Linked DNA regions of Homo sapiens: regions 1, 2 and 3 are each linked to region 4. Evidence: promoter capture Hi-C in 16 types of primary human blood cells and fetal thymus (Javierre and others, 2016). All regions are on one chromosome and are shown on one strand. The core of a region is centred on a gene start or on the middle of the fragment in contact, and the rest is flanking DNA. Distances in the headings are between cores, read along the strand shown. Region 1 overlaps FAM83D (family with sequence similarity 83 member D). Region 2 overlaps DHX35 (DEAH-box helicase 35). Region 3 overlaps ARHGAP40 (Rho GTPase activating protein 40). Region 4 holds the start of PPP1R16B (protein phosphatase 1 regulatory subunit 16B).

The links. Contacts are between HindIII fragments. The CHiCAGO score rates a contact against its expected background, and 5 or more counts as called.
Region 1: a contact is called between a fragment that was not itself captured here and the fragment with the promoter of PPP1R16B in region 4, in 3 of 17 cell types (total CD4 T cells, activated CD4 T cells and total CD8 T cells). The highest score is 6.7, in total CD4 T cells.
Region 2: a contact is called between a fragment that was not itself captured here and the fragment with the promoter of PPP1R16B in region 4, in 1 of 17 cell types (total CD4 T cells). The highest score is 5.1, in total CD4 T cells.
Region 3: a fragment that was not itself captured here is called in contact with the fragment with the promoter of PPP1R16B in region 4 in 3 of 17 cell types (total CD8 T cells, total CD4 T cells and naive CD4 T cells); the score reaches 6.6 in total CD8 T cells.

What each region holds. Positions count from the first base shown.
Region 1 is chr20:38,945,959-38,952,816 of GRCh38, forward strand. It overlaps FAM83D (family with sequence similarity 83 member D), which reads left to right. Exons shown (of 4, transcript NM_030919.3): 3 at 1,918-2,042; 4 at 5,581-6,858. The coding sequence ends at 6,562. Among named protein-coding and RNA genes, the nearest start is that of DHX35, 13 kb to the right of the region's middle. The HindIII fragment of the contact is 204 bases long and covers 4,417-4,620 here.
Region 2 is chr20:39,032,936-39,040,647 of GRCh38, forward strand. DHX35 (DEAH-box helicase 35) reads left to right here. Exons shown (of 22, transcript NM_021931.4): 21 at 1,271-1,382; 22 at 5,564-6,786. The coding sequence ends at 5,608. Among named protein-coding and RNA genes, the nearest start is that of DHX35, 74 kb to the left of the region's middle. The HindIII fragment of the contact is 217 bases long and covers 4,820-5,036 here.
Region 3 is chr20:38,638,774-38,646,734 of GRCh38, forward strand. It overlaps ARHGAP40 (Rho GTPase activating protein 40), which reads left to right. Exons shown (of 15, transcript NM_001164431.3): 8 at 1-65; 9 at 454-613; 10 at 2,953-3,035; 11 at 4,931-5,137; 12 at 7,274-7,414. Among named protein-coding and RNA genes, the nearest start is that of ARHGAP40, 41 kb to the left of the region's middle. RefSeq lists a silencer at 7,444-7,563. The HindIII fragment of the contact is 1,388 bases long and covers 4,038-5,425 here.
Region 4 is chr20:38,801,267-38,809,165 of GRCh38, forward strand. PPP1R16B (protein phosphatase 1 regulatory subunit 16B) reads left to right here and starts at 4,431. Exons shown (of 11, transcript NM_015568.4): 1 at 4,431-4,526. RefSeq lists enhancers at 2,744-3,606, 3,607-4,468, 3,751-4,020, 5,049-5,887, 7,467-7,516 and 1 more and silencers at 4,281-4,660, 4,851-5,070, 5,131-5,480. The HindIII fragment of the contact is 16,329 bases long and covers 1-5,973 here.

The DNA.
Region 1 (6,858 bases), core at 3,269-5,768, 140 kb after region 4:
GCACTTTGGGAGGTTGAGGTGGGCAGATCACCTGAGGTCAGGAGTTTGAGACCAGCTTGGCCAATATGGCGAAACCCCGTCTCTACTAAAAATACAAAACAATTAACCAGGCATGATGGCAGGTGCCTGTAGTCTTAGCTACTCGGGAGGCTGAGGCAGGAGAATTGCTTGAACCTGGGAGATGGAGGTTGCAGTGAGCCGAGATTGTGCTACTGCACTCCAGAGTGAGACTCCACCTCAAAAAAAAAAAAAAAAAAAAAAACAATTTTTTGTAGAATTTGGGTTTGTCTGATGTTTTATCAAAGTTAAATTCAGATTACGCATTTGGTAAGAAGACCACAGAAGTAGCATTATGTCTTGCCATAGTTTTGTGTTTTATTTTTAGCTTATTTTGAATATTGATAGATTAACAGAAGTTGCAAAGATTGTACAGAAAAGTTTCATGTACCCTTCACCCAGTTTCCCCAAATGTTACATCTTATGTAACTTATGGTACAATGTCAAAACCTGGAAATTGACATTGTATACAGCTTTGTGCCATGTTATCGTCATGCATGCATATCCAGACAGAAGTTTCCATCACCACAAAGATCTCCCTCCTCCTGCTCCTTTATATAGTCACATCACTCCCCTCACTTTAACCCCTAGCAACCACTAATTTGTTCTCTATTTCTATAATTTTGTCGTTTACAGTCTATTTTGTAAATGGAATTATACAGTATGTGACCTTTCAAGATTTGCTTTTTTTCTCTCATCACAGTGCTTTTGAAATCCATCCAAGATGTGCACGTATCAACAGTTTGTTCCTTTTCATTGCTGAGTATTGTATGGTATCTTATACCATTCAGCCACTGAAGGACATTTGGATATTTCCAGTTTTTGTCTGTTATGAATAAAGTTGCTGTGAACATGTGTAGAGGTTTTGTGTGGATATAGGTTTTCATTTCTCTGGATGCTGTTATGTGTTACTGTAGTTTCTAAATCAATTAGTTTTCTCTCTCTTATTCTAGTCCTTGAAGGTAAGGAGCATGCCTTACATCTCTGTTGTCTCACGGCTTGGCACATAGTAGGGGCTCTCTATGTTTATGGAATCAATGAGTCAAACAAAAATCTTACACGTTTAATTTAAATGTGTAAGATTTCTAACGATATAGAGCCACTGGTCTGCTCCAGAGAATGCAGATTGTTGTAGTATTTTGTATGCCATTGTTTATACATTTATGTGTGTCATTTTACAGGAATAATTATGCATACATGTGCAGTATATTGCCCCAGCATACCACTACCAGTGTACGTTTTTGGTAATTATGTATTTGTAGGAGATGTGACATTGCTTGTTAAGCCACATGTGATATGAGTGTTTCTGCCTCAGCAGGCCTGTACTAGAGAAGGCCTGTCCTGTGTTCCTATTCTCCATACCCATTATGGTGTTGAGGGTGAGTGAGGATGGACTGTTACTCTAATGTGATGCCATTAAACAAACAAGTTGGAGGAAGATCAGCTTACCTTCTTTCAGACTTTGCTAAAATGTTCTTTATTACTAGCATGTTTTCTTTGATGATTTTATCCCACACATTTTGCTTCAGAATCATTTCTTGGATTCTGTTGTTTAGTATCCCAAAAAGGTTGAGTGTTCTTTTAGAACACATACACGCATGAACTAAGGGTCTCAAAAGTAAATATAAGAAAAGAACAGATGAGAAGATGGACCAAATGTAGAAGTAACATCACTTGAGGCTTGAGAACTGTCTGGCTAGTGTACCATGTATACTGTCACTAAATGGTGACCCTAAGCCACGCATATGCCAATAATTATATCTGGGAATTGTAAACTAAGGCTTTTTGTCCTAACCATTTGCTCAGCAGATGAGTATTGCTGAATTGTTCATTTATATTTCTCCCACTCCCTGCCAACAGTTAATGACAGTTCGGACTATCACAGGAAATATCTACTATGCAAGGTCAGGAACTAAGATTATTGGGAAGGTTCACGAAAAGTTCACGTTGATTGATGGCATCCGCGTGGCAACAGGCTCCTACAGGTAAGTCTCTAACCCGTCCAAGGCTTATTAATCTAAACTCTTCAGAAGAAGCATGTCATGTAAAGGTAAAAGCCTTTTCCTCTCAATGGGAGCCTGTATGGCCATGCATTCTGATATGCGTGCATCTGTGTATAGCAGCTGGTTATCAAAGCCTCCTGTTAGAGGCAGTTTGGGTGGGGGTCACTTCCCCTGTCCTGTAGTCCATAGATTAAAATGCAGAAGTTGAACTTGTATTGAGACAACACAGTCAGCAAGTCCTAGATTTCAAGCCTTGGCCCAGGTCTGCAGGGGACGAACTGGGGGTTAACAGCAACACACAGTCTGGAATCCTGGTTCCTTAGGGATCTGGACCCAGCTTGCCCTGCTCACTTGAAGGTAGGGGCAGTTGCAGGCATCTCCATTAGTGTTGAAGGCAGAGCCAGAGCTGTCAGCTTTAGACTCAAATCCTCCACGTTGCTTCAAGCCTTGTAATTTAGAGCTTTAGTCTAGAAAATACTGATTATGTTTCTGACCCACCTTTGAAGTGTCACATTGGCAATGGCATCTTAAGGTAGAGAGCAGGAAGGTTGAAGAGAGGGTGGGGATAATGAGCGGTTTACATGAATCTCTAGAATTTGTGCCATTTGTACATATGTGGCTCCAATGGTTGTATGTTCTGCCGCCTCTGCGGTAGATTGTCTGATGGTTTGCATGAGGTGTGTCTGTAGAATTTTAAAAAGAAAACCCCATTTTTGAAGAAACACACAACCCTGAGTGATAATTACGTGTCAGCCCTGGGTAAAGGTAGAAATGTGAAGGCTTGTGGAAAATGAGGCAGTAAGATCAAGAAAATCTTGACACCTTTCTTTTTCAACAGTACCCTCATTGCTCAGAACAAAATTTGAACTTTCTTCACCAAAGAGGCTGTGGGAAAAAACAAATTGAACTCTTTTTCTTGGAATTTCCTTTTGTAAGAAGTTTATTAAAAAAATTTGTTTTTAACCTAAGTAGGATTTATCTATATTAACCAAACTTAGCTACAAATGGACTTTTGCTGTTCTAAAATATAAAAACTACCCTCTCCAAATGAAATTGATGACGATGATAGCTTCCATTTGTTGAGGAGGTTTTATAATCTTGGTGTTGGATAGGTGCTTTATTTACATTATCTCATTGAAGGCTTTCTTTTTTTTTTTTTTCGTGATGGAGTCTTGCTCTGTTGCTCAGGCTGGAGTGCAGTGGCGCCATCTTAGCTCATTTCAACTTCTGCCTCTCAGATTCAAGCGATTCCTGTGCCTCAGCCTCCCGAGTAGCTGGGACTACAGGCATGCCACCATGACTGGCTAATTTTTGTATTTTTAGTAGAGATGGTGTTTCGCCACGTTGGCCAGGATGGTCTCAGACTCCTGACCTCAGGTGATCCGCTGGCCTCGGCCTACCAAAGTGCTGGGGTTACAGGTGTGAGCCACTGCGCCCGGCCCAGCCTCATTGAAGGCTTTCAAAAGAATCTTCCTTCTCAGGCTTTGAAGGCAGTTTTCAGGGGGACTTTGCATTAGCCATATCTTGGTTACAGGAGACAGAGTTGACTGTGTTCTATGATCTCTGTTTGAAACCTACTTCTGGTACAAATACCACCATTAGTGGGGTGATGGCAAGTGTCAGCTAACTCTCAAACGTACTGACTCGAAGAACCCGGAAGGAAGCATAGAAAGGTACAGTTGGTTTTCAGTTCATCTTGACGTAGGAGCCACACGCTGATCAGAACACTATATCCTGGTTCTGATGTTTTCGAGTTGACTTTTGTTCTTAGGCAGGCTCTCCCTTTGAAGTCAACGATCCTGGCTTTGTTTATTTTTTGTTTTTGAGACAAAGAGTCTTGCCCAGGCCGGAATGCAGTGGACGATCTCGGCTCACTGCCAAGTTCCGCCTCCTGCGTTTACGTCATTCTCCTGCCTCAGCCTCCCGAGTAGCTGGGACTACAGGCGCCCGCCACCACGCCCAGCTAACTTTTTTTTGTATTTTTAGTAGAGATGGGGTTTCACTATGTTAGCCGGGATGGTCTCAATCTCCTGACCTTGTGATCCGGCCACCTTGGCCTCCCAAAGTGCTGGGATGATAGGCATGAGCCACCGTGCCCAGCCAGATCCTGGCTTTCTTATATGGCCTTTAGTAGCTGTCTCCCAAAGGGTGAAACTCTTTCACTCAGAATTACTATCAATCCCTTCTGTCAGAATCCATTTGATAAAGAAAAAAGAAATCTCTGAAAACTTACTTGGCTCTGGTGGGATCACATGCCCACCCTGAATGAATCCCTGCATCCAAGGGAATAGGATACTCTGGCCAGTGTGGACCACATGCCTGCCCCTATTGTGGTTGGAGAGAGTATGATAATGAAAGCTTTCTGGGGTACAGGTGGGTGTGAGTTCTGCTAGCAGAGGAGGGAGGCGGGGAAGGGACACCGTACAGGCAAGGGCACATGGCCACTAATCAGCTCTAAAATGTTTTGAGCCATGGTGTTTTGTGAAAATGGCAGCACAGCCCCATGACTGTGGGTCCTCCACTGTTAGTGAGGAAGACTACTTCAGCAGCCACAAGGACAAGCTTGAGGGCAGGAAGGCCACTGATGTTGCCACTCAAACAGTAGCAAGGAGCAGGGCATTAGCAATTCATAGGGCCTAGGGTCTGATCTGGAGTCCAGCAGTAGCTCCCCTCTGTGATAATCCCTTTATCTGGTTTCCTTACCTTTAAGATGGGGGTGCTGGCCTAAATAGTTTTCTTACCTTTAAAATGGGGATGCTGGCCTAAATATTTAGAAGCCCTATTTTTTATTTTTAATTAATTTTTTGAGATGGAGTCTCGCCCAGTCATGGAATCTCGCCCAGTCATGGAATGTGCAGTGGTGTGACCTCAGCTTACCGCAACCTCTGCCTCCGGGGTTCAAACAATCCTCCCACCTCAGCCTCCCGAGTAGCTAGGATTACAGTCATGCACCACCACGCCTGGCTAATTTTTTATGTGTTTTTACTGGAGACAGGGTTTCACCATGTTGGCCAGGTTGGTCTTGAACTCCTGACCTCAAAGGATCTGCCCACTTCATCCTCTCAAAGTGCTGGGATTACAGTCATGAGCCACCGCGCCTGGCCCCCTTTCCAGTTTTTAAAAACTCTGAGGCAAGGACCAGGTGAGGTGGCTCACACCTGTAATCCTAGCACTTTGGAAGGATGAGGTGGGAGGACTGCCTGAGCCGAGGAGTTCAAGACCAGCCTGAGCAACATAGCAAGACCCCGTCTCAAAACAAACAAACAAACAAAAAAACCCTCTGAGGCTGAGCATTTAGTGTGTTTGTTAAACAGTTGGCCTTTTTACTTTTATGGTAACACACATAAATGTTATATATGTGTTAAGGCTAGTTAAATACATGCAAATGGTAGGTATGATATCACCAAATTTGTGACCCTTATGTGGTAAGATACCTGTACTATATTATTCAGATGGACAGTGAGTAAAACAAAATTGCTCATCCTTACCAGCTGCTGTTTGTTTCTTTTTAATCTTTAAGTTTTACATGGACGGATGGCAAATTAAACAGCAGTAACTTGGTAATTCTGTCTGGCCAAGTGGTTGAACACTTTGATCTGGAGTTCCGAATCCTGTATGCCCAGTCCAAGCCCATCAGCCCCAAACTCCTGTCTCACTTCCAGAGCAGCAACAAGTTTGATCACCTCACCAACCGAAAACCACAGTCCAAGGAGCTCACCCTGGGCAACCTGCTGCGGATGCGGCTGGCTAGGCTGTCAAGTACTCCCAGGAAGGCGGACCTGGACCCAGAGATGCCCGCAGAGGGCAAGGCAGAGCGCAAGCCCCATGACTGTGAGTCCTCTACTGTTAGTGAGGAAGACTACTTCAGCAGCCACAGGGACGAGCTCCAGAGCAGAAAGGCCATTGACGCTGCCACTCAAACAGAGCCAGGAGAGGAGATGCCAGGGCTGAGTGTGAGTGAGGTGGGAACACAAACCAGCATCACCACAGCATGTGCTGGTACCCAGACTGCAGTCATCACCAGGATAGCAAGCTCTCAAACCACGATTTGGTCCAGATCGACCACTACTCAGACTGACATGGATGAGAACATTCTCTTTCCTCGAGGAACTCAATCTACAGAAGGGTCACCAGTCTCAAAAATGTCTGTATCGAGATCTTCCAGTTTGAAGTCTTCCTCCTCTGTGTCTTCCCAAGGCTCTGTGGCAAGCTCCACTGGTTCTCCCGCTTCCATCAGAACCACTGACTTCCACAATCCTGGCTATCCCAAGTACCTGGGCACCCCCCACCTGGAACTGTACTTGAGTGACTCACTTAGAAACTTGAACAAAGAGCGGCAATTCCACTTCGCTGGTATCAGGTCCCGGCTCAACCACATGCTGGCTATGCTGTCAAGGAGAACACTCTTTACTGAAAACCACCTTGGCCTTCATTCTGGCAATTTCAGCAGAGTTAATTTGCTTGCTGTTAGAGATGTAGCACTTTATCCTTCCTATCAGTAACTGCTCCGTGTTCAGACTCCTGGTTTCTTCCAGGCTTACAGTGGACATCATCAGCTTCCTGCTTTAAAAAATATCTTATGTCCCTAATTGCCTTTCTTTTACCTGACTTTGTCACCTTTGTTGTCTTTGAATTCTTTAGGCTGCATATTATTTTACATGCTTTGTTTTGTCATGTATATACCAGGTATTGGTTTTATGGTTTAAACACTATGGATACAGGGGTTTGTTTTGCACAATTTTAATAGTCATGCACTACATAATGATGTTTTGGTCAATGACAGACCACGTATATGTTG
Region 2 (7,712 bases), core at 3,678-6,177, 230 kb after region 4:
GATACGCACACTCGTGTGCAGGATAATTTGAAGAGTGCCCACGCCTGTCATCTCAGCACTTTTGAGAGGCTGAGGCCAGAGGATTGCTTGAGGTCAGGAGTTCAATACCAGCCTGGGTGCCATAGCCAGACCTCAACTCTCAAAAAAAAAATGAGCCAGGCATGGTGGCACGTGGCTGTAGTACTAGCTACTCAGGAGACTGAGACAGGAGGATCGCTTGAGCCCAGGAGATTCAGGCTTCAGTGAGCCATGATTGCACCACTGCACTCTAGCCTGGGTGACAGAGCGAGACCCTGCCTTTAAAAAATTTTTTTTTTTAAATCAAGAGAGATGCAAAACCTCAATTTTAGATCCTTTTTTTGCTGACTTTTGGGTGGTTAAATTTGGGAGTTGCTTAAAGGAGAAAGGCTTTTCTTTTTCTTGCTTCATTCCTAAGGAGCTCTGAAGGGCAAAGAAAGGTTGGGGAAATAGAGCCAGCCTGAAGCCATGCCATACCATTCAGGTGGCAAAGAAAGTGCCCCCCAGTCACGGCCTCTTTGCAGGGGGGGCCCTTCTTTTTCCTTTGATCAGCTGAGATTCACTTACTGGTTTTTGAGGGGTGGGGAACCACAGTATGGCTGGTATGTTTATAACATGGGAAGCCCTGAATTAACACTTTGGATGTTTCAGAAACTGATATCTACTCATATGCACACCTAAAATCAGGGGACTGGATGTTATGCTCTTGGCTCTTCGGTTGTCTATTACCTGAGCCTTAGAAACATTTTTTCCCTTAAATAAAGGTATAATTTATTTACAGTGCAAGATGAGTTTTGACAAATGTGTATACCCATGTAACCTGGACCCACATAAATTATACAATATTGTTATCATTTTAGAAAATTCCTTTGTGTCTCTTTACAGTCAGTTCCCAGCCTCTTTCAGAATCAGGCAAGTCTTTGCCTCCATTTCTGCATTTTCTAATAAAGTCATTAGGCTCAGTTCAGAGTTCTGTAAATGCAGATGAAGGATCCAGAAAGGTCCTTCGCGGATAACTGAGATGTTCCAGAAGTCATTGAGGATTTAGAGTCTCATCTGAAAAATGGACACACCATTACCCAGCACTTAGGTCTTGAGGCTGTGGTGAGCAACATAAATGCATGTGTTTAGCACAGTGTCTGGCACATAGAGTAGAACCTGTTAAAGGTTAAAGGAAACAGCATGTCTACCTGTGGTTCCTGACTGTCATCACAAGAGGGGGAAATTAGCTCATGTTTCTTTCTCATTTCAGGGTCATCTATAACGAAGTTATACAGACCTCCAAGTACTACATGAGAGATGTGACTGCCATTGAATCGGCCTGGCTGTTGGAGCTGGCTCCACACTTTTATCAACAAGGAACGGTAGGAATGAACTGAGTCTGTGCCCCAGCCACCTGTTCACAGCCTCTCCATGTTTTTAAATGTACTTTTTTTCTCCAATTTAATGCCCTATGTGTGTTCCCCCTAGGGGTGCATAGGGTGGAAAGGCCATTACCATATCCCCAAAACATTCTGGGAAAGCACTCTAGCGTTTAATTCATAGTGAAGTGCAATTAAAAATAAATCCCCCTAATCTCATAAGAAAAAAAAGGTATCGCTTTCTCGCTTTCTTTCTCCTTTTGCTCTTCCAAACTATTTTTTTTTTTTTTTTTGAGACAGTCTCACTCTGCCGCCCAGGCTGGAGTGCAGTGGCACGATCATGGCTCACTGCAAGCTCCGTTTCCCGGATTCAAGCAATTCTCCTGCCTTAGCCCCCATGTAGCTGGGATTACAGGTGTGTGCCACCACGTCTGGCTCATTTTTTTCTTTTTCTTTTTTCTTTTTTTTTTTTTTGTATTTTTAATAGAGACAACGGTTTCACCATGTTGGCCAGGCTGGTTACAAACTCCTGGCCTCAAGTGATCCACCCACCTCAGCCTCCCAAAGTGCTGGGATTACAGGTATGAGCCAGCAGGCCTGGCCTGAGCTAATTAAAAAAAATTTTTTTAGGGATGGGGTTTCACTATGTTGCCCAGGCTAGTCTCGAATAACTGGGCTCAAGTGGTGCTCCTGCCTTGGTCTCCCAAATTGCTGGGATTACAGGTGTGAGCCACCATGCCACCAGTTCGTTTTTTATTTTTATTTATTTATTTTTGGGACAGAGTCTTGCCCTGTCATCCTGGCTGGAATGCAGTGGCACAATCTCAGCTCACTGCAACCTCTGCTTCCCAGGTTCAAGTGATACTCCTGCCTCAGCCTCTCTAATAGCTGGGATTACAGGCGTGCGCCACCATGCCCGGCTAATTTTTGTATTTTTAGTAGAGACAGGGTTTTGCCATATTGGCCAGGCTGGTCTTGAACTCCTGACCTCTGGTGATCCGCCCGCCTTGGTCTCCCAAAGTGTTGGGATTACAGGTGTGAGCCACCACGCCCAGCTCCTTTTTTAAAAGGGTTACAGCCCTGTGCTGTTTGTGGCCTGAAAATACTTGCTTTACATATTTTGCCCAAGTTTACTGTTGTTTACAGCAGAAGAGAAAGTCTGAAACCTTTTTCTCCATTAGGGCCAGAATTGGACTACACAATGTTTCCAAAGCGATATTTGAATTGATTGCCACATTGAAAAATTGGGAGATTTCATATTAAACATGAATTTCTGGTTTCTCTTGAAAGACATGTTTAGTCTGGCAACACTAGGCTTGCGTTCCTACGTGGTGGCATCACAGGGGCTTAGGGGTGGCTGCCTGCTGTTAGTGACATCGCCAGGTGCCGTAGTCCCATGTCACTTGCTTACTTGCCTGCTGCACTCTTGGAGACATTTGAATTTGTGACCCTGTAAATGGAAGGATCTCCTCATCTCTCCTGCTCCAGCAAAGTCAAGGGACATTGCCCTCTCAAAATTTTATAATATTTAATTTTTATGTAATCAAACAAAAACCATTTCACACCTTTATAGTTCTTCACACATCCCAATTCAGATATTTCAGCTGGAAAGCAGATCAGCCTGCAGGGACTGATAAAAATGCAGTGTGTGTTGTCTTTGCTGAATTAGGTTGATAAGAATAAACCTGGTGAAAGAAAGGCTTTTCCTTCAAAACCTCTCAGGTGGAAAGCAGCAGACTTCAGGAGTCAAGAGAAGGGATCAGAAAGGTAAACTAGAGGTTGAAAGAGGAATGGTGCAGTGGTCAAAATGCCTGTTAAAGTAAGAAGATGCAGACAGCCAGAGAAGGATAAGCCTGAAATTGTCTTGGATTCATTTAGACTCTTGGAAACAGAATTAGCCCAGAAGCTGAGTCATTTTCCCTTCTCAGCTCAAAATTCCAGTTTCTTTAGGTCAAACCCACAAAGTTAAAGAGCAAATAGCTTCAGAAATTTGAAGAAAATAACAAGCCCAAATTTCTTCATTTGTCTCTTCTCTCCAAATGGCTTTTTTATTTTTAAGCTCATCACCTCCACTGTCATCGGAGTATTTTTAGAGAGGCTGGGACAGACCTTTAGAAATCACCTAGTGCGGCCGAGCACGGTGGCTCACGCCTGTAATCCCAGCACTTTGGGAGGCTGAGGTGGGTGGAACACATGAGGACAGGAGTTCGAGACCAGCCTGGCCAACATGGTGAAACCCCGTCTCTACTAAAAATACAAAAATTAGCCGGGCATGGTGGCATGTGCCTGTAATCCCAGCTACTTGGGAGGCTGAGGCAGGAGAATCACTTGAACCTAGGAGGTGGAGGCTGCAGTGAGCCGAGATCACACCACTGCACTCCAGCCTAGGCGACAGAGCAAGACTGTCCCCCCAAAAAAAAAAAAAAAAAAAAAAAAAAGAAATCACCTAATACAACAACCTCATTGTATAACGATGGTCCCCAAACCACAGAGAAACTTGTGTTGTTTCTTAACTGTATAGTCCAAGGGCACTTCTACTATTAACTTGTCCAAAGCAGATTGATTTCTCAAAGAACCTCCAGATCTACAGGGGTTGCCCATGTATGGTAGATGTTCCTTTACTGAACACAGTGCAGCACCTCACAACCTTCCACAGCCCACAGATCATTCACGGCTCTGTTCCTGGCACCTTTGGAGACTTTCCATCACCACTGTTTTTCGGAATGTTGCTCTCACCCTGTGTGGAGGCCTGAAATGGTTCAGAGTCAGCTTTGTTTATATTCAACATTCTTCCCAGAAAAAAGCACCAAAAATGGCCCCACAGGCACAATGGCGTCATCTCCCATCCCCAAGCTAAGGCCGTGGATATCTAACATTAGCTGTAGGGGTTATATCAGGTGACGTGTAGAGAGAGAATTCAGAGAAATTCAGCAAGACCTACAGCTAGACAGGGGAAGAACGGGGTGACCTATTCAGAGATTTGCCTTCTGGCTTTTAAATTATTTTTCCTTATTCTCAGAGATATCTTCATTATTAGGGAAAACCCTTTTAACGAGGCCTTTGCAAGAGCCTGTAGTAGTCCTCCCTCAGGTGTAAGCAGATGGAAAGTCTGAGTTCTTGTAGCTCATTTATACCCGGGTCCTGTTCGCTCTGTTGTCTCTCACGTCATACCTGGTGGTGCGCTGTGTCTTCGTTCACGCCCTCCATTTTTTCAGGGCCTGCAGTTCTCTCTGGGGGCGATGCGGCTTGATGTTGTGGGGCCATGTGGCTGTGCTAAGTAGTGGGCACACCAGCTCCGGAGCAGTCAGGGTGGGCATTCTCATGTGAGGCTCCCACTGTGTGTTAGTTGGCACGGCTTAGGGATCTCTTGGTTATTGATGATTAGTAATGGGCTGTCGGGTATATCCCAGTTGATGAGTGGAGGGAGGTCTTTCATTAAAAGCTTGTATTTACACACTCTGCCTCAAAGGCATATTTAAGGATTTCTGCCACTTTTGGCTTTGCTTTAGAATGTAAAAAATACTTCATTTTCCAATCCTATTATCTGATGCCTATGATTAGAATATTGTGCTTCGTGTTATTCATAATGGTAGAAAGTGACATTTCTGGGGAAAAAAAAAAGTGTCACTAGGAGGTGTCCTTTCTGTTTTCCCAGCAAGCTTGTACCCTCCATGTGGGCAGAGGCCATATCTTTATCTCCATCCTTGAGCATGGGTACCTGGTGTGTTGAGACGCTTGGTAAATTGACTTCCTTGGTCCTAAAGAGAGGATAATTTTTCTTGACTATTGTCAGGAACTTCTTGGAGATTTGAGATCACTTCCAGACTGAGCCCAGTCTCCTGAGCACAGTTGTCTGGCTGCGGTGCTGTCCTCTAGGCTGGGGCAGAGGGAGAGTCGTGTCTCAAAAAGAAAACCTTTCCTTGACAGCTTCCGCAGAGCCCTGTATAACCAGCTTCAGCCGCTGTGGCTTGGGCCTCGGGTTGCTGGCGGCTGAATTCAGGTCGGCTTCTTCATTGGCCACTTGGGCTTTTTCCTTCCAGGCTGTTTCATGAACAGCTCAGCATTTACTGGGAAGGTGTGGACCAGATGGAAGATTTGATGTGGTCATTCATATGGGGATTATGTTGCAGTCTGGTTTCTTTGTCTAATCAACCCCAACTGTAGTGTCTTCTCTTCTGTTGCAGCACCTGTCTCTGAAAGCCAAAAGGGCCAAGGTCCAGGACCCGTGAGAGGAGCCCACAGCTACAGCTGCAGGGACTGCTGGCGTCCTCTCCTCCATGCTGCTGCCCCTGGTCCCAGGTGGGGTGAGCTGGCACCAGCTCCTGTGGAATGTTTGGTTGCTCTGAAGTGGGCTGCGGCCTGTTCATTAGTCCTTTCTTCCCGCTGCCCACAGCATTTGCATCCTTGCTGGGATCCTGGAGGACTTTGTGCATGGGCAGGCATCCTTCTGTGCTGCAGCGGGCAGAGTGGGAGTTGGCTCACTCAGCACGCTCACTAACCCAGCATGCCACTTCCAGCAGGCATGCAGTCCTGGCCCAGCTCTATGGGAAACAAGGAGGAAAGTTAGCCACTGAAGGCCAAAACACCATGTGGGGTGGACAGAGGGTTTGCTGGGCTGGCTTTGCTTTCCCTGCTGGGGCCACAGCTGTGTTAACCAATGAGGTCTGCTGCCAGGTGTGAACAAGCATGTCTCTACGAATGAACGAAACATTGGGGATCTCTGCCGAAACCACCAAAGGGCATGTCTGATGGGCACAGGGTCTCCCAAACCCAGTGGCTTCTGTCTGTCCTCAGCCCTTGTCCCTGTTTATCTGCAGCCAGGAGACTTGCAAGGGATTGGTGATTGACAGAGAGGACTCGTGCGCTGTTTTGTGTTAGCAGAGGATTTGTGTTTCACAGGTAGGCTTAGCGTCCTCTCAGAGTGTAGTGCCAGGTCCTGGTGCCACGCTAGCTGAGCACTCAGGAGAGTTCATCAGCTCAGATCCCACAGGGCCTCCTCTTTAGCAGGAATTCACAACAGTTTGGATGCCCTAAACTTCTGTAGCTCAGGAACATCACTGGTGTATTTGTTTTTTTGTTTGTTTGCTTGGGTTCTTGCAAGAGCGCGTGGGGACAGTTCTTCCAGCAGGCACTGGTTTTGTTGCCCCAGGGCTGCTTTGCTGTGATGATGATTGCATTTCAACACATGCCAGATGCAGATTTTTTCCCCCTTACTGTTTCAATGACCTTTATTTTAAAAACACATAGCTTGAAAATTTATTTTTATACTGATATTAGTTTGGATGTGCCACTTTTGGCACCAAACGTGTATGTCATTTTTATTTCCATTTTATAAACATGTAAATAATAGTGATAACTTGTTAATAATAGTAAACCTTTATACCTAAAGTAAATGTCTTCCCTCCCACACCTGGTTTTCGTGTCTGTATGTTAAGATGTTCTAATGAATTGTTCGAAGTGAGGGCCTGACATTAGCTAAGAAACTTAATGCTGTGGCATACAGCAGCTTTGGGATCTCAGGGACACAGGAAGCCCCCTAAAGCAAGATGATGTGACTGAATGACCTCAAGACCTGATTAGAGTAAACTGTGGGACATTTAAAAGAAGTCCCAAAGAGGTGCTAATTCTTGCCAGTTTCCAGTTGGGATCTTCCTGTAGAGAGGTCAGAAACATTATTTTTCAAGTTTGGCTTTAGGACTGGGGCTGATCCTAAAAAGCTTATATGGCGGTGGAAGGGGAAAGGTACAGGTTTCACACCCTCGGGTTGGAGACCAGAGTCCACTGGGAGCCCGGACAATCTGGAGGGAGCACCCAGAGGCAAGCCCGTCCCTGCATGCTGCCTCTACCCCTGGGCGCCTGATCCTGAGCACATGCTTCCCCTCTGTCCCTCCACCTCTCAGAAGGCAGCCCTCCCCAGGCGACACCCCCCAGTGTTGTGTCCTGTGTTATGTCACAGTCTGTGATGGGTGGGACAGGTCCTTGCTGTCCGAAGCAACTACAAAATCCTGGGCCCATGGGGAGGCCCCTTTACAGTAGGGTTGGTTAAGGCTGGGACCACACAACTCACCAGGGAGTGGGGCCCGGCCTGGGCGAGAGAGATGAGAGCTTTTGACTTTGTCTGTTGCAGGTCTGTGTCCCTGTTCCCATTGTCAGCCCACAGATGTGACAGCAGGGCCTAGTACCTCACAGACTGTCCCCCAGTACTTCCACAGAATTAGTCCCCTCGGGCTCCACACAGGTCTTCAGATACTGCTAGTAAAATTCCCCACAGCATTGCTGTGTCTTCCCTTTGGAGCAAGTGAGAGGGCAGAGAGAAGCTGGCGCTGGAAAGCA
Region 3 (7,961 bases), core at 3,482-5,981, 160 kb before region 4:
TGGAAAAGAGAGGACTGGACATGGAAGGCATTCTCAGGGTGCCCGGATCCCAGGCCAGGGTCAAGGTAATGGTTTGGCTTCCTGGCTTCACTGAGGCTGCATCTCCCCCATGCTCACATGTGTGTTAAGCCGGGAGGGAAACCAGTCCCTGACTCGCCAGTGATCTGTCTTTGGTCTCTGTGTGGGTCGAGGGTTTGAGAGGCTGAAGGTGGCATGATGAGCATGGTGGCAGAGAGTGTGGGCCCTGGAGTCAGGCCACCAACGTTTAATGAGCAGAGCTCTGTGCTCAGTGACACGCACGTTAGACCATTTCGTCCTTACTTCAACCCCACGAGGGAGGTGCTCTTGTTGTCCCCACTTTGCAGATGAGGAAACCAAGCCCCAGAGAAGTGGTAGAGCGACTTCTACCAGAGCCCTGGGCCAACTGTGTTTTCATGCCCCGCCTTCCTGTAGGGGCTGGAACAGAAACTGGAGAGAGACTTCTATGCTGGCCTTTTTAGCTGGGACGAGGTTCATCACAATGACGCCTCTGATTTGCTCAAAAGGTTCATCCGGAAGCTGCCGACACCTTTGCTCACGGCTGAGTACCTCCCGGCCTTCGCCGTGGTGCCTAGTGAGTGTGCCCAAGCCCTTAGCCTGTGCAGGGATGGAGAGTTGGCTCACTGGCCTTGGTGGAGAGGGGAAGCCATGCAAAGGCAGGACTCCGTGTTCCTGGAAATGTCTGTTCCAGAAATGTCCAACTGATGGGGGAAGAAGCAAGTGTGAACATGTGAGCCCAATGTGTGCACATACACATGTGCACGCGTGTCCTGCGTGTGTTGTATGGCATGTGTGCAGGTGTGTGAGGAGAGGAGGCTAAGGTTTTGCACACTACAGTCCCTATTAGTTCTCACATGGATGAGTGGACTAGTTTCCTTCACATCTTGACATCCATGGGGTTGAGCTTATCAGCATCATTACCTGTGTATCTGTGGGCACACATGTGTGTGCATGTCCATCTGTGTGCACATCTGCAGATCAGCATGTGTTGCACGGACCTTGCTGTATGTATAGTCTGCATATATATGTTCCTGTCTGGACTTCTTCACAATCCACAATGAACAAAGATAGTCACTTCTATTTTTCTCAAAAAAATACAGCAGCTCTCCTGAGATCTCACTCACAACCGTGAGGTTCTCCCTGTCTCTCTGAATTCTCCAAAAAGCTCCAAGGCTCAGGCAGTCTGATTTCTACCCCCAAGCTAGGGACAGGGATCCTGAGAGGTCCTCTCTGACCTTTGATTCTCACGACCGCAGCGTTTTGGTTGTTGTTGTTGTTCTTCTTCTTCTTCCTCCTCTTCTTCCTCTTCTTCCTCTTCTTTCTTCTTCTTTCTTCTTCCTCTTCTTTCTTCTTTCTTCTTCTTTCTTCTTTTCTTCTTTTCTTCTTTCTTCTTTCTTCTTTCTTTCTTTTTTTTTTTTTTTAGAGATGGGGTCTTGCTCTGTCACCCAGGCTGGAGTGCAGTGGCATGATCCTAGCTCACTGCAGCCTTGAACTCTTGGGTTCAAGTGATTCTCCTGCCTCAGCCTCCCAAGTAGCTAAGAATATAGGCACATGAGACCACGCCTGGCATACTTGTTTAACATTTTTTTGTAGTGACGGGGGTCTCGCTATGTCGCCCAGGCTAGTGTCAAACTCCTGGCCTCAAGCGATCCTCCCACTTTGGCCTCCCAAAGTGATGAGGTTACAGGCATGAACCATCAGGCTTGGCCTCAACCTCATTGCAAAACATAAATCAGATTCCTTCCCTATGCTGTTGCCCACCCTCCACAGCACTCTTGTAATAAGATTCCACTTCTTACTAGGCCCACCTCCTCCGGCTCAGGTCCTGCCTATTTCTGGCCCCCTTTCCTCCTGGGCCCCTCCTTCCCCACTGTCTGGCCAGGCTCTCTCGCTTTGCTGTTCCCCCTCCTCTTTCCTTCCCTGGGGCCTCTGCACTTGCTGCTGTGTCTGAATGGAACCTCCCTCCACCCTCATTTGGCTGCTTTCTGCCATTCAAGTTCCAGCTGGCTGTCATTGCCTGCGAGGGGCCTTCCGTGACCCCACACATCATGCTGCCTGCCAGCCTCTATAATGATGCAATGATGCCCATCATACTCTGATTTATTCTTTGCTTGTGTATTATGTCTCCTCTCTGAAATGTAAGCTCCATGAGCCTGTGACTTTGTTTTCCTCCTTTACTATTGTGTCCAAGATTCCTAGACTGAGCACAGCACCTGACAGGTACTTGATAGATATTTGTTGATAAGTGAGAGAAGGAAAGAAGGGAAGGAGGGAGGGAGGGAGGGAGGAAGGAAGGAAGGTAGGTAGGTAGGTCATATGGGGTCGCAGGCCTGGCGCCCAGGGTGCTCAGCCTCTGTCTCCTACGCAGCTCTTCTCCAGGTTCCAGCCAGCTCTCAGCTGCTGGGTCTTGTCTGGCTCTGATGAACTCCTTCTTTGAATCTATAACTACTACCTCCTCCTACCTACCTCCTCTCCCCGGAGATCCTGACACCAGGTGTGAGACAGCTTTTCCTTTTCAACCCTCACAACACAGAGGGTTTCATGAAAACCTTCTATCTGGGCCCATTGAGCTCTCTGTCTCCCTTCCTAAGGGTGATTTGCTGGTTCATTGCATTTCTGACCCTGGGCTGCAGCCTGGACTGCATCTAGGTCTGTGCGGCATGTGCTTGCCTGCACATGCATGCGTGTGTTTATTTTGTTACACAAAGTATAGCGAGTGAACCTCCCACGAGCACTGGTCAGGGCTCTGTCTGAGCCAACATTAGACAAGGAAATAGTCCCACACCTTATGAAAAAAGGGATTCCTGGCTGTCCCCTGGCTTTCCAGCTCTGGAATTTCCCCAAGAAGAGACCAGACTGAGGGAGGGAGTCCCTGAGCCTCCCATGGAGACTGAGGTCCCTCCCTTCCCGCAGACATCCCCAACCTGAAGCAGCGCCTGCAGGTTCTTCACCTGCTCATCCTCATCCTCCCAGAACCCAACAGAAATGCCTTAAAGGTAAGAGTTACCATGCACCACCACCACTCTGCCATCTCAGCCCACAGCCACAGCCATGGCTTCAAATGTGCTCATTCATTCATTCATTCATTCAACAACTCTGCCAGGTGCTAGGGTTCAGTGATGACCCACACAAACCTCTCTTGAGACTTTTTCTTAAAGAAAGTAGATGAGTCCTGAAAGGGGATAGTCCCGGAGTGGGCACTGCAGAGCGTCAGTTCCACGTGGTGCTAACAGGTGTTAGCACCTTGTGGCCAAGCATGGATGGGTAAACACAGAGTTCATGAAACAAGGTTAAGAATACTTTTCTCCCCAGGACTTCTCAAAGCCTTTGGTATATTGAGGCTTTAGAGAATCTCCAAGTGGGATTAGAGTATGCAGCACTCTCCAAACTCAGTTGATCACAGACCTCTTTTGTTGTGGAAAGCATTGCATGGCACTGGTGTTCCATGCAGAACCAGTTTGGGAAACAGACCCTTAGCAAATTCTCCTTGTCGTATGGGAATGGATGCAGGGCCTTGGCCCAGCTCCCTGTACCGTCTTGACTGTCCTTCAGTCAGACTCAAGATGTGCCTCCAGGATCAGCCTGAGGAGGCCCCGGGTCTTCCTGTTTGAGTTTCTGCTTCCTTTTCAGTAAACTGAGGATGATAATAGCATTAATAGCATCTTGTCTAATTGTTTTGGAAATCATAAAAGCTAACTCATGAGGAATCATGGGGTAGAAGATGATGCTTTGCAGGGTACTCAATATGTGTCCTCTTTTCCTATCCTCTCTCCCTCCCTCTCTCCCTTCCTTTCTTCCTCCCTCCCTCCCTCCTTCCCTCCCACCTCCCTTCCATTTATTCTTCCTTCCACCACCCATTTATTCTCATTCGTCCATCTATTAATCTTTTCTTTCTCCATTCATCCATCCATCCATCCTTCCATCCATCCATCCCTCCCTCCCTTCTTCACTCCGTCCCTTTGTCCTTACTGGCTATATGACTCTTGGCACATTCTCCAAGCTTGTTTCCTTATCTGTAAAACACATGCAATAATAAGAGCTACCTTGGCCAGGCACAGTGGCTCATTCCTGTAATCCCTGCACTTTGGGAGGCCAAGACGGGAGGATCACTTGAAGTCAGGAGTTCGAGATCAGCCTGGCCAATATGGTGAAACCCCGTCTGTACTACAAATAAAAAAATTAGCTGGGTGTGATGGTGCACACTTGTAATCCCAGCTACTTGGGAGGCTGAGGTGGGAGGGTCACTTGAACCTGGGAGGCAGAGGTTGCAGTGAGCTGAGCCAAGATCACACCACTGCATTCCAGCCTGGGAGACAGAGTGAGACTCTGACTCAAAAAAAAAAAAACAAAAAACAAACAAAAAAAACCTACCTTATAAAGTTTCTGTGAGGATTAAATGAGATGTACCAATTAAAGGCCCAGGAACACAAAGAATACATAGTAAGTGGTAGCTCTCATCACTTTCTGCTGCTCTTCTCAGTGTCTCTGCTTCTCCCAGCATCTCTGCTTCTCTATTCCTTCCTTTGCATTTTGGGTAGACCCAGACTCCAGAAAGAAGGAGCTATCCTGGGCCTCACCAGGAAATGACCCATGTTCCAGACCTGTGGCCCTTTTCTACCTGGAAGTTGAAGTCTGACCCAGTTGTCTCATTAGTCTCTGAGGGAGCAGGGGAGGGAAAGAGTCTTGGACACACTGCAGAGCAGGAAACGGAGACACAGAGAGGTCATGGAGTGGGCCGGTGACACAGCTGGAACGGGAGCCCCTCTTGCTGCCCTCCCAGCTCCTGGCTCCTTCCTAGCACCCCCTTATCATTCATCAGAATGCCCTGGGGATGGTGGGGAGGCGCCAGGGATGGGCTGAGATTTGAGGGAGGCTCTGCACCCTTCCCTAGGCACTGCTGGAATTCCTCAGGAAGGTGGTGGCCCGGGAACAGCACAACAAGATGACTCTGAGGAATGTTTCCACCGTGATGGCCCCTAACCTCTTTCTGCACCAAGGGCGGCCCCCCAAGCTCCCCAAAGGCAAGGAGAAGCAGCTGGCAGAAGGGGCAGCCGAGGTGGTGCAGATAATGGTGCACTACCAGGATCTGCTGTGGACGGTGAGTGCTGCTGGGCGCTGGGTATCCCTCTGGGTGCAGCTGCCGTGCCGCCCCTGCTCTCCAGGAGCCTGGGCATTGTCCTTTCAGTTCCCTAGTGTGTCCCTTCCAGGACCTTTGTTGGCCTCTGCACAGGCCTGTGTTTTCTTCCTCCCCCTGCCTTAGTAACCAAGAAGAAGTGTCTTCACTTTCTGTCTCCACTGCCATGCCTCTCAGTCAGTCTGCTGCCATCTGGTCTACCCCAGATTGCAGGAGTTCCCCCAACTCCTGCAAATAATTCCTTCACATCAAAGCTTTTATGCTGCTGAGAAAGCCCCATCCCTGAGGCCCAGGATCACAGGGCCTGCCTAAGACAGAGCCCAGAACCAGATAACAGGGATACCCCTGCCCTCCTGCCCCCACCGTGAGCTTTGCCCTGAGTAACAAGTGACAGCAAGGGGAGGAGCCAGAGCAGGAGAGAGGCCCCTCTGCGGTGTCAGCATGCATGGTGCCCCTAGCACTGAGACCCCTCCAGCTCTTGAGACTCCTGTGAACACAAGGCAGCACCATCTACCACTGCTGACCAGGCTGCTTTCTCACCTAGCGATGCGTAGCCTCTTCCCTCCATCTGTTCATTCATCCTTCCATTCAGTCTCCCATCCATCCACCCACTCACCCACCTACCCATCCATCCATCCACCCACCCATCCATTTATGCAACTGCCCGTCACCCACCCACTCACCCACCCACCTATCCCCCCCACCCATCTACTTACCCACCCATCAATCCATTAATTCCTCCAACTCCCCCATCCACCCATATGCCAATCTATCATCCACTCACCCATCCACCAATCATGCATCTCTCCACTCATCTACCAATCCATCCATCCACCCACTCATTCACCCATCCACTCAACCATGCATCTATCCAACTAAACCACACATCTATCCAACTATCTACCCATCCATCCATCCACTCATCTACCAAACCATGCATCTATCCCACTATCTACCCATCCATCCACCCACAGTCCTTCCCTCTATCCCTTCCTTCTTCCATGGTCATTAGGTTAGATTTCCTATTCCAGAAACCAGCAAGTGAAGCCCTCTCTGACTGTTCCCACTTTTCTTCCTACCCTGCCTGGGCACTCGTCTGTGTTCTAAACACAGCAAACGCCAGCTGGCACTCCAAACTCATCTAGTACTTCACACTTCTGAATTTTTGCTTATGCAGTTTACTCTGCCTGGAATTCCCTTCCCTTTTTTTTTTTTCTAAGGGCAGAAGCCTGGTGTCCTCTGCTCATTCTTCAAGACCTCCTAGTTCAAAAGTCAACTCCTCTGTCGAAAGTCCCCTACTCCTCCCTCATACACCCCTTATACCCCCATAGTTCCTTTCTTCTCTGCACTCAGCCCTTTGAGATAATGTTGCTACTGAAAGACATTGGATTGTAATACTTCTTTTTATTGGAGGATGCTTTAAAAATTCAAGAAATTCTTGAATGTTTTCTTGTTAGAAAAGCTTCAGAAAACATAGATGTAGAAAAAGTGAAAGGGGAGAACCCCCATCACCCTCGCTCTTCCCCGTGTGTGTCACCTTTAGACAGCACACACATAGCAGCAAAAAGGGGAATTCAGAATCGACTCCAGTTTCGTCAGACCCTGGGAGACAGAAACATGTTATTAGCAGGGTCCATGGAGTCTGGGTTCTCTGACTCTGCTGGGTTCGGATCCCACAGAGAGGCATGGGTTGATCTGGAGGTCTCTGTAGGAATCCCCCAGTGTGGGCTCTCTGGGGGTTCTCAGAGCAGAGCCTGCTCCAGGTGTGTTTTGGGGACACCCCTGCCTGAGTGTGCCAGTGAGCAGCTATCCCTCAGCAGGTGCAGGACCCTCCAGCTTCTGTCGAGGGGACCACTATCCACTAAGCCTCAGGGTGGGCTCCACTCTCAGGGTCCCCTACTCCAAGGTCCACTTTAGGGGCTGAATGCCCCCTCCTCATTCCACCAAACCAGTGCTTCCGTCCCGTGTCCAACAAATGCATATTTCCAAGCCCTGTGGGACGCTGGGCCAGGGAAGAGGCCACGATGACCCTGGAGAGGGCTCTGCCTCTCGCCCCCAGAAGTCCTATCCCCCTGCCAAAACTTGATCCTTTCTGGCCAGGTCGCCTCTTTCCTGGTCGCCCAGGTGCGAAAACTGAACGACAGTAGCAGCAGGCGCCCCCAGCTCTGCGACGCAGGCCTCAAGACTTGGCTGCGGAGGATGCACGCAGACAGGGACAAGGCGGGGGACGGCCTCGAGGCGGTGAGTGCCCCCGACCCCAGACAGGTGGAGAAGGGCCGAGGCGACAGGAGGGCACCTGGGGCGCGGTGCTTCCCTTCCTCCAGGTCCCCGCTACCGGGCTGCCAGCAACGGCCCAGTGAGGCCACCAGGGGGCGTTGCGGCGCCGTCACGGGGAGCGAGGAGGCGTGGCTGCGAAACGAGGGCTTAGAAGCGGGTTGGGGAGGGGAAATGGAGTGACTCGGAGACTTCCCCTAGAAACCGTCACCGCCGCCCCATTTTTCGGCAGCCCCTGGCCGAGGGTTGGGAAAATGGGAGTCGCTCTGCGGGGTGTGAGGTGATTGGGGCTGGGTGGGGGATAGTAGAAGGGAAGAGCCTTCCAAAAATACTGAGTATTCCTAGGAGGGGTCCTGAACACGGTTCCTTATTAAAGTCCCGATTAGAGAAATTGATGAGCGTTGAGGCTGCACCGTGCACGATGTGTGGGTGATGGGTCTTTATACAAACCTACATGTCTGTGTTTGTGGGTGCGTTGCATGTACTCCTGCTGTGTGTACAAGTGCACCGACAC
Region 4 (7,899 bases), core at 3,181-5,680:
GCCTCCAATAACCCCCTCCCAGCTCTAGACAATCACCAATCTGACTTCTGTCTCTATAGATCAGCCTATTCTGGACATTTCCTATAAATACAATCATATAATATGTGTATGGCCTTGGAACTGGCTTCTTTCACTCAGCACAAGGTTTTCAAGGTTCATTCACGTTGTGGCATGTGCTTCATTCATTTTGATTGCCAAGTAATAGTGGATTGTACCGTGTTTTATTTATCCATTATCATTTGATGGATATTTGGATTGTTTCCACTTTTTTTTTTTTTTTTTTTTTTGAGACGGAGTCTCGCTCTGTCGCCCAGGCTGGAGTGCAGTGGCGGGATCTCGGCTCACTGCAAGCTCCGCCTCCCGTGTTCACGCCATTCTCCTGCCTCAGCCTCCCAAGTAGCTGGGACTACAGGCGCCCGCCACTACGCCCGGCTAATTTTTTGTATTTTTAGTAGAGACGGGGTTTCACCGTTTTAGCCGGGATGGTCTCGATCTCCTGACCTCGTGATCCGCCCGCCTCGGCCTCCCAAAGTGCTGGGATTACAGGCGTGAGCCACCGCGCCCGGCCTTGTTTCCACTTTTTAGCTGTTGTGAATAATGCTACTATGAACATTTGTGTACAAATTTTTGTGTATGTATGCTTTTATTTCTCCTGAGTATATACCTAGGAGTAGAATTGCTGGGTCATCTGGCAACTCTATGTTTTAAATTTTGAGGAAATGCCATACTGGTTTTCAAAGCAGCGGCACCATTTTACATTTCCACCAGCAATGTATGAAGGATCCAATTTCTCCATATCCTTACCAATGCTGGTTATTGCCTATCTTTTTTATTATAACCATCTTAGTGGGTATGAAGTGGTATCTCATTGTGGCTTTGCATTTCCTTCATTGCTAATGATGTTGAGCATCTTGGCCATGTGTATATCTATCTTCTTTGAAGAAATGTCTATCCAGATCCCTTGGCCTTTTTTTTTTTTTTTTTTTTTTTTTTTTTTTTTGAGACTGGGTCTCGCTCTGTCGCCCAGGCTGGAGTGCAGTGGTGTGATCTTGGTTCACCGCAACCTCTGCCTCCCAGGTTCAAACAATCCTCCCACCTCAGCCTCCCCAGTAGCTGGGACTACAGGCCCATGCCATCATGCCCAGTTAACTTTTTGTATTTTTAGTAGAGTCAGGGTTTTGCCATGTTGCCCAGGCTCCTTGCCCATTTTTTATTATTTGTCTCTTTATTATAGAGTTGTAAGAGTTCCTTATATATTCTAGATATAAGTCCCTTACCAGGAATATGATTTGCAAATATTTCCTCCCGTTCTGTGGGATATTGTATTATTTTGCCAAGGCTGCCATAACATAATACTATAGACTGGGTGGCTTAAACAACAGAAATTGGCTGGGTGCGGTGGCTCACACCTGTAATCCCAGCACTTTGGGAGGCCGAGGTGGGTGGATCACTTGAGGTCAGGAGTTTGAGACCAGCCTGGCCAACATGGTGAAACCCTTACTCTACTAAAAATACAAAAATTAGCCGAGCGTGGGGGCATGCACCTGTAATCCCAGCTTCTCAGGAGGCTGAGGCAGGAGAATCGCTTGAACCTGGGAGGTGGAGGTTGCAGTAAGCCAAGATCGTGCCACTGCACTCCACCCTGGGCAGCAGAGTGAAACTCTATGTCAAAAAAACAAAACAAAACAAACCCCCAGAAATTTATTCCTCACAATTCTGAAGGCTACAATTCTGAGATCAAGGTGTTGGCAGGTCTGGTCCCCCAGCCCTGAGTCCTCTCTCCTTGGTTTGTAATTAACCTTCTTCTCCCTGTGCCTTCCTCTGGTCTTTCCTCTGTGTGGCGCATCTCTAGTGTCTCTTCTTATGAGGACACCAGTCATTGGATGAGGGCCCCATCCAAGGGCCTCAGTTTAAGATGATCACCTCTTTAAAGACCTTATCTCCATCCACAGTTACATTCTGAGGTTCTGAGACTGTAACCAGTACAGTTCAGCATATGAATGGGGGTGAGGGGGCACACAATTCAGCTTATAACAGTTATTTTTTCACTCTCTTTTTGTTCTTTTTATGTTTAATTTTTTTTTTTTTTTTTTTTTAGAGACAGGGTCTTGCTCTGTCACCCAGGCGGGAGTACAGTAGCACCATCATAGCTCACTGCAGCCTTGAACTCCTAGGCAAAAGCAATCCTCTTAAATAGCTAGGACTACAATCATGAACCACTACGTCTGCCTAATTTTAAAAGAATTTGTAGAGACAGAGTTTCACTATGTTGCCCTGGCTGGTCTTGAGCTCCTGGCCTCAAGTAATCCTCCTATCTCCACCTCCCAAAATGCTGGGATTATAGGTGTGAGCCACCAGGCCCAGCCATAACTTTTCACTTTCTTGATGATACCCCTGAAAGCACAAAAGTTTTTAATTTATCTATTTTTTTTTCTTTTGTTGCTTGTGCTAATATCTAAGCAACTACTGTTTAATCCAAAGTCATGAAGATTTAGGCTTATGTTTTCTTCAGAGAGTTTTATAGTTTTAGCTCTTACATTTAGATCTATATGTTGCATATAGTATGAAGCAGGGATCCAAATTCATTCTTTTGCATGTGGATATCCAGTTGTCCCAGCACCATTTTTTGAAAACACTATTCTTTCCCCATTAAATTGTCTTGGCACTCTTGTTGAAAATCAATTGGCAGTAAGTGTAAGGGCTTCTGTCTGGACTCTCAGTTTTATTCCATTGGTCTGTATGCCCATCCTTATACCCGTACCACCCTGCCTTGATGACTGAAGTTTCCTAGTAAGTTTTGAAATCAGGACTTGTGAGTCCCCCAACTTATTCTGAATTTACTTTAACTTTTGATACCGAACACAGTGTGAGAGGTGAATGAACAGCATGACATTGGAGTTGGGAGCCCCCTCCCTCCAAAGGCCTTATTTTAGGAACACAGGCCCCAAGTGCCACACAAGCCTTGGAGAGATGGGTTCCCATCCTCTCAGCCCATGGCTCTTCATTATCAATCAATGGAAACATTCTTCGGAGAACAATGATTCCCTTGGGTTATTTTAAACATGGCTTTAAGTCTTCCCCACATGCTCTACTGTCTAATTGCTTTTCCTGAAACAGTGTCATTCACAACTGGATTATTAATGAACTGAGAGGGAGCCAGGGAGCCAATGAAGGGGGCTTACAGAGTTCCTGGAGAGGGCCTGGGGGCCTGGAACAAGTTCAACCCACAGATTTTCTCTCCCCCAAGAAAGGTGACTGAGCAAACAGAAAATCACTAAACTCAGGTGATGCTGGTGGCCTCAAAAGAATATTGCCAGTGAAAAAAAAAGGATTCGGGCGAGTTCCTCAAACATGACAGCTGAGAATCAAATTAACTGGGTACCATCCCCAAACTCCCCAAACTTAAACTCTGAATTTCCCCAGCTGGCTGGCCCTGGGGTGCCTAGGGCTCTCATCTGTAGGCCGGGAAAGCTCAGGAAACAAGGCCTTTGTGGAGAAGAGAAACCTATTGTTCTAAGGCCAGGGTTCAGCAAATGTGGATTCCAGAGAATGTTTGGGGAGGTTTTCTCTGCTTTGTTTATGAACTTTCTTTTCTCTTCCTGGGGTGGTGATGGTGGGGGGTGACTCTCAGCAACTTAAATAGTTAAACCCATTGTGTTGTAAAGAAAGGCTGGTGCACAGAGTGCAGAGGCCTTCAGCCCCAGAAAGAGGCTTGAATGAGGTGACAGAAGCCACCGGGTATGTTTTGCTTTTTATTTTTAGCGTTAAATCTCAGGGAAGCAGCCCCTATCTTCATCCTGCACATCTCAAAGGGCGTCAGACGTCAGCAGAGGTACGACCACTTCCTTCCTCCAGCGCTTCACCTCCCTTCTTTCCAGAAAGAGGAAATGATGCGAGTCCACACCGCAGGCCACAGCCCCCATGTCTCGGCCCCAGCAGCTGGGGGACCTGGCCCCACAGATCTGTCCCCAGCGCAAGGCCAGGGCCGGCCCCTGGACCTCCTGGGAAGCCTTCAGACTCAGGCCGCGCAGGCCTTCAAGCTAGGAACCCTGAGTTCCTGGCCCTGGCATTCATTCTGTGTGACCTTGAGCAGGTTACCACTCCTCTCTGGGCTTCAGGATTCCCGTCTGTCAAATGGGAGCAGGGATACCGTCCTTGGCTTCCCTCTTTCCATGGTCGGGGTGGGGGTTAGGAAAACTATTTTGGAGGAGGGGGCAGCGTTAGGAAAACTATTCCGAAGCCTGGCCACGTCCCAACCGGTTTCAACTTCCTGCAGCTCAGAAGAGGGGTCCCCACCCGAGAGCGCCGGGACCCTGTCCCGCGCTGCCTCCCAAGCCGGATGGGGTTGAGCGCGCCCACCCCAGTCCCAGGAGCTCAGGCCCCGCCTTGGGGGAGGAGCCGAGAGGCGGCGCGGAGGCTCGCGGCCGAGCAGAGCCAGCTCTGTCGCCGCTGGAGCAGCTGCGGCTCGGGGACCCACAGACACAGCCGGGGTCGGGAGCCGCCCGGGGCAGGGCTCGGGAGAGCGGGTGAGTTCCCCGGCGGCGCCACCACCCTCCTTGCGCTCTGCGGCTTCGCAGGGCGGGGGATGAGGATGGGGCGGGGAGGTGGTCCCAGCCTGCTATCACCTAGCTGGGGGCCGGGGCGCTTTGGCCAAGGGACGATAGCTTGAGATAAATGGGAGTGTGGGGACTCTGGAAAGACGGGTACCGAGAGCGCTAGGTCCGGGAGTCGGGCTGGAATGGGGGCGTTCTCCCCGGCCTCGCAATTCCTTGACGAGGCCAGGGGAGGGGGCGCATTGGCAGGTTGTTGGCTGCGGCCGTCGTAGACCGATCTTGGGGCGGGGAGGTGGGGTCCTCGGTCTGTTCTGGACTCATGGGGCCGCCGTCTGCCGGGGGTGCAATGCCGGGCGGCGGGAGCCACAGCGGACACCAAACAACCCCCCCCCGCGCACTCTCCCGGCCGGGCATGGTGGTGCCGCCCCCTCGCGTGGCGGGGCTTGGTCCTGGCGGGCAGCGGCAGGGCGCAGAGAGCGCTCCTGCCCGGGCGGGAAAGATCCCCAAGGCAGGCGCCTCCACCTGCAGACCCGCCCCGCCTCAGGATCCGGCTGACAGCACCAGCCAGCCCGGGGAGACCCCGCGAGTGGTAGTTCCCCGGGAGGGGCGCGCCCGGCCTCTCCCAGGGCCCCGTGCGCCGGCGGCTGGGTCCCCCGCGCCAGGAGCGCTCCCCTCTGGGCGACTCCGGCTCATCGATTCCGGCCCAGAGGAGCGCCCCCGGGCGCCGAGGATGGGCGGAGACGTGCAGCCGCCCCTGAGAGGTCGCCCAGAGGGGTCTCCCCAAGGTCACCCGGAGTGCCCAGGCTGAGCTGCCCAGACCGCCCCGGGTGGAGAGCCGGGAGGCAGGCGCTCGCTGCCCTCCTCCTTCCCCCATGTAGACTCCCTTCCTCCGCTCCCCCACCCCGGCCCGGCCTCCAGCTTCACTGGAGATGCTGATGATGCAGCTCCCAGCCCTTGGAGGATAATTGAGCCTGGGAGAGCTTTGAATCTGGCCCTCCTGAGACCCCAGGGCTGCGCCGCTGCCGCGCGCCAGGCCTGGGTCCCGGTGCTCCCGGGCACCTCAGGAGCGGAGGGAGAGGGATGTGGCTTCATCAGCGCTTCTAGGAACCGAAAACCGAGCTGCCTGCGCGCCCATGTGATTGCATTTCACATAAAGGGCCCCTGTTTTCACTGTCAGAAGAGCCCCCCAGCTCTCCGCGGCTCTGGACACCAGGTGCCGCCTCTGAATCACCCTCTGTGGAGGACCCGGGGCCCGGAGGTACAGGCGCCCTTTCCCGCAGGGCTCTCCCTGGAAAGGGCCTGCCGATGGCGGCCTCAGTCCGCAGGGGTACTTCCCTGTGTACCCTGCCATTTCCTGCGGCTGGTGAAGCACCGGAGAAAAACCGTCCATCTAGGAGGCCTCCTCCAAGGCTGGTAATAAAGCTTCTTAGCCCAGCCAGCGACTAGCTGTCTACTCGTGGGCAAGGTACTTGGCTTCTGGAGTCTCAACTGCCTCTAAGATACGGGGCTAACAGCCGCCAGGCTGTGGGGAGATGAGGGAGAGGCTGGGTGCAGCAGAGCGGGAGGATGAACACTCCTTGGCCAATACTGGCCGCCCTCGGGATTGGCTTTGAGTGGGGCGTGTCTCTCTTAGACAGGTGCAGAAGTGGAGCCCTGGTGGGTGGTTCTGCAGGGGCTGGGGGAGTTTCCACATCTTCCTCCCCCAGCTCTGTCATAAAAAGCCAGCTTGCAGGAGGCCGGTGGGGGCCAGCAAATCCTTCCAGCCGGCTGCCTGCTCACACGGCCCTTCCCACACAAATCTCCCATGCCCTTCTCTCCCACCTGTCACCCAAATCCCATCTTCCTGGCTGAGTCCCCAGGATGCTGGGGGCAAGATGTCAACCAGGCCACCCTGGACTGTCAACTCTGTGCCTACTTGTCTACTGGGGTCTACCTAACAGTGTTCCCCTGTCCTGGAACCTTCCTGGCTCCAGCTCTTCCCAGCCTCTGTAATGTCTTCTTTCCCCTCTTTTGGTCTCCTACCACCGTGACACTCATTAGTGGCTCTGTGGTTCATGTGTCAAGGGCCCCGTGCCATCTGTGCTCTCCAGATCATCCATGGCCTAGAAAGACACGGTAGGCAAGGCCCTGTGCCCACTCAGACTTTGCTCTCCCTGGTAATTGACGGAGTGGAGGTTAAATTCTAATCTAGCTGTTAAGTCATTTCAGGAGCTTGAGCCACAGGGCTAAGAGGATACTGATGTAGGCAGGTGGTTTTTCCTTAAAGCCAGAACCTTTCTCCTTTCTGCAGAGCCCATTTGAGCCCTTTGGAAACTAGGCCTATGTGTGATGGCCTCACAGAATCCTCACAACCCCGTGAAGTAGGCATTACTGATTCCCATTTTGCAGATGGGAAAACTGGGGCTCAGCTCCTCTCAAAACCAGCTCCATGCCCCAAGTGTAGCAACAGAGGCTGCAGCCAACCTGGTTTAGGAGAAGGCAGAAGGCACATACCTGAATTCAGGTGCTGTGCTTGGACTCTTGGGACCCCATCCCCCCAACCTTTCCCTCCCCTCTCCCAACCTAGCCACCACCCCTCCTGCACCCAGGACTCTTGTCACATTTGTTGACCAGGAGGTCCCAACTGGCACTCTTCCAGCAGAGACCAGGAAAACCTTCACTGTCCTGAGTGCATCTTAGCAATTGGGCTTCAAGAAGGGCTCGGACAAGCCTGCCTCTTACAGAAAGCTACGAGTATGAAGAGTGAGGGAGCCAGAGAGGTCTAATTTTAATTAGGGATCTATACCTAAAAGCTCTGTGACCCTGTATACATGACTTAATCTCTCTGAGTCTGGTTTTCTCATTTGTAAAATAGGTATCACAGTAATGCCTACTTTGTGGGATTGTAAGGATTCCATGAGACCATTAACACATAGAAAGTGCTCAGTACTAGGGTGGAGCATAGTGGCTCACACCTGTAATCCCAGCAGTTTGGGAGGCCAAGGCGGGAGGATCACTAGACGTCAGGAGTTCGAGACCAGCTGGCCAACATGGTGAAACCCCATCTCTACTAAAAATACAAAAATTAGTGCAGCATGGTGGCGCATGCCTGTAGTCCTAGCTACTTGGGAGGCTGAGGCACGAGAATTGCTTGAACCCGGGAGCAGGAGGTTGCAATGAGCCGAGATCACATGACTGCACTCCAGCCTGGGTGACAGAGCGAGACTCCATCTCAAAAAGAAAAAGAAAAAAAAAAGTGCTCAGTACAGCATCTGGTGTGGGTAGGAATGCAGGAAATGATCATTGTCACCATCACTACTATTTCCTCCTTTGTGTTGGACTCTCAAAGGTCCCACCTCCTCCAGTG